Regions from separate parts of the Homo sapiens genome. Here region 2 is linked to region 1. The links are contacts of gene promoters, found by promoter capture Hi-C in blood cells and fetal thymus (Javierre and others, 2016). All regions are on one chromosome and are shown on one strand. Each heading gives the region's core, a stretch centred on a gene start or on the middle of the fragment in contact. The rest is flanking DNA. Distances are from core to core; before and after follow the strand shown.

The links. Contacts are between HindIII fragments. The CHiCAGO score rates a contact against its expected background, and 5 or more counts as called.
Region 2: a contact is called between a fragment that was not itself captured here and the fragment with the promoter of MRPS28 in region 1, in 1 of 17 cell types (fetal thymus). The highest score is 6.0, in fetal thymus.

The regions. Positions count from the first base shown.
Region 1 is chr8:80,028,468-80,031,571 of GRCh38, reverse strand. MRPS28 (mitochondrial ribosomal protein S28) reads left to right here and starts at 1,313. Exons shown (of 3, transcript NM_014018.3): 1 at 1,313-1,536. The coding sequence starts at 1,324. All of the region lies in intron 5 of TPD52-MRPS28 (TPD52-MRPS28 readthrough), which reads left to right. It also overlaps a transcript of TPD52 not described here. RefSeq lists an enhancer at 1,161-1,590. The HindIII fragment of the contact is 3,845 bases long and covers 310-3,104 here.
Region 2 is chr8:80,869,675-80,872,521 of GRCh38, reverse strand. All of the region lies in intron 1 of ZNF704 (zinc finger protein 704), which reads left to right. Among named protein-coding and RNA genes, the nearest start is that of ZNF704, 3.7 kb to the left of the region's middle. The HindIII fragment of the contact is 1,981 bases long and covers 515-2,495 here.

The sequences.
Region 1 (3,104 bases), core at 64-2,563:
TGAGGGTTCTTGAAGACCACTGGCCATGCTCTTTACAATTTACCACACTTTCTCCTGAAAAAAAGTGGAAGTAGCACTATCCGTAGAAAATAATGTTCTAGGCAAGAGTCCATTAATAGTCTCGGGAGATAAACAGTTTTAACTGCCAAGAGGGAGAACTCACCTGGAGAATTTAATGAATTTGTAAGGACTACCATACAGTTAGCTAGTAATAATTTTATGTGATTCATACAATTGTGCACCATTCTGAGATCAGTGTACTTCGTGTTCTTAACACTATCTGTACCATTAGAGAGCATCAGAAAAGCTTAAAACCCATAGTCAAGGCATTCTTAAAATAGGGTCTGTGATCATAAAAATTCTTTCTCTCGAAGTACTTGCAAATGAACTGGAAAGGTGTGTGCCCCCAAAATAAAACTAACTGTGGATTAATATTAAACTGCTGGGTCAAAGATAGACGGACAACTAATTAATAAACACTTAAGAATGATGTTAGGCTGTTTTGAACAGGGTGGGTAAATTTTGGGAATTAACACTGCAGGAGAAAAGGGAAAGAAAATCCAGAGTGAGGGTGGGGGCCTACGGCGGTGCAATACTTAGGGACATTCCAAAACTTCTGAACTCCTAAGTTAGATAATAGGTATCTAGAGGTGTCAAAACATTTCAGAAAAACTATTTTTGTGGCGTGAGTGGACTGGCTGCAGAAGTGGCAAAGGACAAACTTGGATGCAGGGTTTGGCAAATGTTGGGTGAGCCCTAATCTGTGCCTGGTGCTAGGGACCCTACAGCAAAGTTCCTCTTTTCAAAGTTTAAAAAGTTGGGAGTAGACACTAAATATTATTAAATATTTAATATTAATATGTGGCATATTAGAAAGTGCTACATGGTACTAAGAAAAACAGGTGCCAGAGAGTCTGCATTTGGGCTTCCACTTCTAAATAGGGTAATCAAGGAGACCCTCATATTTGAGTGAAGACCCCAAACTCGAGTGCTGGCGGCCATGTAGGGGGGACGGCAGGGCGGGAGAACGAGCGTCGCGTTAGCAGAATTTACAGTACAATGGGGTCCAACGGATGCCCAGGAAGGCGAAATTCCTGCAAGTTAAACGCACTTCTAACGCAAAACTTAACCAGGCCCCTTTCCAACTATTTAGCCCACCAATTTTAGCTTAAGTCTCTTCTTCCCCACGCCACTCCCAGATGAAAGGAAGACACGCCTCGTTGGCCTCCAGAGCTCTGCGTCCGGGGGGCGGACCTCTCATAGCTCCGCCCCGTGACCCGCGCGCTTGCGGAGGGGAGGTCAAAGGTCAGAGGTAAAGAAGTCATGGCGGCGCTGTGTCGGACCCGTGCTGTGGCTGCCGAGAGCCATTTTCTGCGAGTGTTTCTCTTCTTCAGGCCCTTTCGGGGTGTAGGCACTGAGAGTGGATCCGAAAGTGGTAGTTCCAATGCCAAGGAGCCTAAGACGCGCGCAGGCGGTTTCGCGAGCGCGTTGGAGCGGCACTCGGAGCTTCTACAGAAGGTGGAGCCCCTACAGAAGGTGGAGCCCGGGCGGGTGAGAGGGAGTCGCGGGAATTACGCCAACGACGCGGTGGGCGGGGTCGGGAATAGGGGCGGAGCCTGGCTTAGGAAGGGGAGCTGAGGTCCGGGGCCCAGTTTTCCGGAGTTGCGGTGCGTTGTGGCTCAGCCCTCGGCCCCTAGAATCTGTGCTTGGTGTTTTTCTTCCTTTCGTTGTCCTTTTGTGTGGCATTTGCGTACTGGGCCGGGTCTGTCCACACTGCGCTTGTTTTCCTGGGATTGAATGCTGGTGGGAAGGTAACCAGCGGGGAGCGCTGCTGGGGAGGCGATCTAGGGCGATTCCTGGGACGCTAAGGAGAATGGGACTCACACGGAGAGGCAGGGCTCTGCTGGGTCTTGTTCTGAACAGTAGCTCTAGCATGGAGCTTGCTGTCTGGAGTAGAAGGCCCTTCATAAACATTTGTTAATTTAATGACTGGGTGATGAATCACTTTCTGAACTTGGGCAAGTGATTTAACTTGTCAGCGCTTCACCTCTCTTTTGTAAATGTCTTCTTTTTTTAAAAAGTAAAGTAAAATCTCCGTTTGTCTCAGCCAGTACTTTTGTAAAATACCATAAATTTATAGATAAATGAAATGGAAGAAATAAAATTACAAGCCTAAGTTTTTAATAATTAAACTCAGCAGACATGAAATTGAATTATATACAAATAAACTCTCAATTTCTGTATTTTTCTTCCTAGGGAGTAGTACCAAACAGTTCACAAGACTGGCAGTGTCCTGGGTTATAGGGTCATTTTAGTAGCAATTACTGATGTCAAAATTTTTCTGAAATCCAAGGACTAGAAGAAGCCTGGTATATTAGTTTATTATTTTCTGTTGTAACAAATTACTACAAATTTAGTGGCGTAAAACACAGGAAATGTGTTGTTGTTAGGGTTGTGAGAAGTCAGACGGGATCTCACTGGTCTAAAATCAAGGTGTTGGTGAAGTTGTGTTCTTTTCCGTAGCTTCTAGGAGAATCTCTTCCTGGCCTGTCTTTTCTGCCTCTGTTTTCTACTTTTTTGTTTTTTGGATTTTTTTGTTTGTTTTGTTGTTTTTTGAGACAGGGTCTCGCTCTGTCACCCACGCTGGAGTGTGGTGGCATGATCTCAGTTCACTGCTAAACCCCCTGGGCTCAAGTGATCCTCCTGCTTCATAGCTGGGACCGCAGGTGTGCACCACCACTCTGGGCTAATTGTTTTTTCTGTTTTTTTTTGTAGAGATGGGGTTTTGCCATGTTGCCCAGGCTGGTCTTGAACTCCTGGGTTCAAGTGATCCTCCTGCGTTGGCCTCCCAAAGTGCTGGGATTACAGATGACAGATGTGAGCCACCTGGCCTGGCTGACCCCGCCCGGCCCCGCCCCCCCCGCCCGTCTTCTGCTTTTGAGATCCCTGTGATTACATTGGCCTCCCTAGATAATCTATTTTAAGATCAGCTGATTAGCAATCTTAATTCCACCTGCAAAGTTAATTCTCCTTTGCCACGGAAGGTAACATATTCACAAATTCTAGAGATTAGGATGTGGATGTCTTTGTAGGGGGAGGGGGCA
Region 2 (2,847 bases), core at 256-2,755, 840 kb before region 1:
TATTGGTATTTCAGGAAGAAAAAAAACTCATGAACAGCTGAGCTTAATAGTTAGAGACCACTAAAAAAAGCTTTGGGGGCTCACCAAAAAAAGCTCCTCAAAGCTTGAAGTTGCATTTCCAAAGAAATGTTGAACATCGGCAATTAGAATAGCCCCAGAGTAGATGTGGGCAGAAATTTATTTCCTAGACCACCCTGGAAGTACCAGCTCTGGGAGTGAGAAATTTTCAGCAAGTAGTTATTTGGGATGATAGTTTTTGACAGCTGCTTGTTGAAATCCAAACCGTGACCACATTCATTACCATGGTCTGTTGAAAAGCCTGCATTGTATGGCTACAAGATATAGCTGGGTTTGAAATGAAGTCACATGGTGTCAGTGACATTGAATATCAAGAGTAGTGACTCCTTAGCATTTTTGTCCAGAAATACTGAAAGTGTGTCCTGTGGTTTGAATAGTGATTGCACAATTTGTGATAGAAACAATAATAATTTATGCTCTGTGATGAAAACAAGCTTAATATAGGGAAAAAATCAAATCCGTAAAAACAGAATAATGAGTGTGATAATTCACTTGATCAGTAAAGGTTTTTCACATCTTCAAGTAAATTTCCTTTAAATTCTTTCAAAATGGGCTTCATTTTATAACACTCTCATTTGCCCACAACTTCAGAAATTTACACAGAATGTTGGAGTCATTTGAGGTTTATCTTTTAAATTACTCTTTTAAAGACACTGTATCTGAAGAGATTTTCTAATGGAATATCACTAGATAATTTTATTATAATGCATATACGAATGTTAACCTCTTACATATATTCATGCATTCATTTATTCAACAAATATTTATTGAACACCTATTATGTGCTAGCAGCTATTCTAGAACATAGCAGTGGACACCTTCCTGATGCTCACATCTAGTGAGAGGCATCATAGCAACAATCAAATACATAGATGCAGATGTACATGCATAAGCAAGAATAACACTTCAGATTGTGGTGTGTCCTGTGAAGAAAATCATGATATCTTAGAGTTTCAAAGGAAGAAGAGAAAGCTACTGTGGGTGAGATCTCTCTGAGGAGGGAACATTTGACCTGAGATATGAGACATTTCGCATGGGAAGAGCTTTCCAGGCAGAGGGAGTAGCAGTTGCAAGTCTTGAGGTGGAAAGGAGAAAAGGGTGAGTGTGGCTGGAACTTGGTAGGTATGAGATATGTCAAGGAGGCTGGGAGGTGCCTGCAAAGAGAGCCTGGTGGGCCCTTTAAAAGGATAGTGAAATCTTTGAAAAGTTTTAAGCAATAAAGTCTTACAAGGTAATTTGTAGTTTTCAAAAGATCCATGCTGTGTGGAGGACAGTAGTAGAGGCAGGGAGGCCAGTTGGGTGGCTGTCACTACACAGACCAAGGGAGGGAGAGGGCAGCTTGGAGTTAGAGATTGGCAGGAGATGGCAAATTCAGAATCTATTGTGAGGATCAACCTACAAGAACTTGTGGATGGGTTGGTTGATGGGTAATGAAGGAAAGGGAGGAATCCAGGATGAGACCATGATGTAAATGTTGGTTGAAGGTACCATTTACTAAGATTAGGAAAACCGAGAGAACAAAAATCAGGTTTTCTGTTTTGTGCATGTGAATTCTGAGATGACTATTGGACAACCAGGTGGAGGGTGTGGTTAGGCAGATGGTGGTGAGATGGGGAGTGGATAGGAGAGGTCAGGGATAGTGGGAGGAATTTGAGCGACATCAGTATGTTAATGTCATGTAAAGCCTGGGGGCTTTAAGGGAGTGCAGGGGGCCAAGAGAGGAGAGCCTGGGGCCTGATTCTGGGGCACAGCACTATTTAAGTTTGGGTGTAAATGGAGAAGCCAGCAAACACTATTGAGAAGCAGCAGCCAAATAAGTAGAAGGAAAACTAGAAAATCTAAAGTCCAATAAGCCAAGAGAAGAAATAGTTCCAAAAAGTGGGTGGGGAGTAATGAACTGTATTGAATGCTGCTGAGATATAGAATAAGAAAGAGAGAGAGAGATGTTCATTTGGATTAGATAAGATGGAACTTACTAGTGTCCTTGACAAGAGAAGTTTGAGTGATGTGCTTGGAGTAGGCTGAGCAGCCGATGAGAGGTGTGGACAGAGGGACACAGGAAAAACTCTTTTGACAAGTTTTTTGGAAAGGAGAACAAAGAGGAGGAGGAATAGCTGGAAGGCCTATGGCCTAGGTTTTTTTAAAAGATGGGATACAGTAGACCCTAGTGTTATGACTAAAGCATCATGGGAATTATGTGGAAGAGGGGTTATTAGTTTTCTATTGTAGTGTAGTGTAACAAATTACTACAAATTTTTTTTTGCTTTAAAACAGTTCTTAGAGTTTCTGTGGGTTAGGAGTCTAGGCTCAGCTTAACTAGGTTTTCTGTGAAGAGTCTCACAAGGCTGCAATCAGGGTGCTACATGGGTTGAGTTCTCATCTGAAGGCTTGACCAGGGAATAATTAACTTGTAAGCTTACATAGATTGTTGGCAGAATTCATTCCCTTGCATCTGTAGGACTGAGGGTCCTAGCTTCTTGCTGGTTATCAGTTGGAAGTTGTTCTCAGCTTGTAGAGCTCTTCTCCCCCTCCCCTTCCCTACTTACTGCTGTTTTTTGTCACATGGGACTCCTTAGCTTGGCCTCTTACTTCATCAAGCCAGCAAGGAGAATCTTAGAGCCTGCCTGCCAGCAAGATGGAGCCTTGCATAATGCAATGTAGTCAGGAGGAATAGGCCAGAAACTTGGCCATATTCTGTTGGTTAGAAGTAAGTCACAGGTTCCACCCACAACCTAAGGAGAGGGAATTTTACAAGGTTATAAACACCAG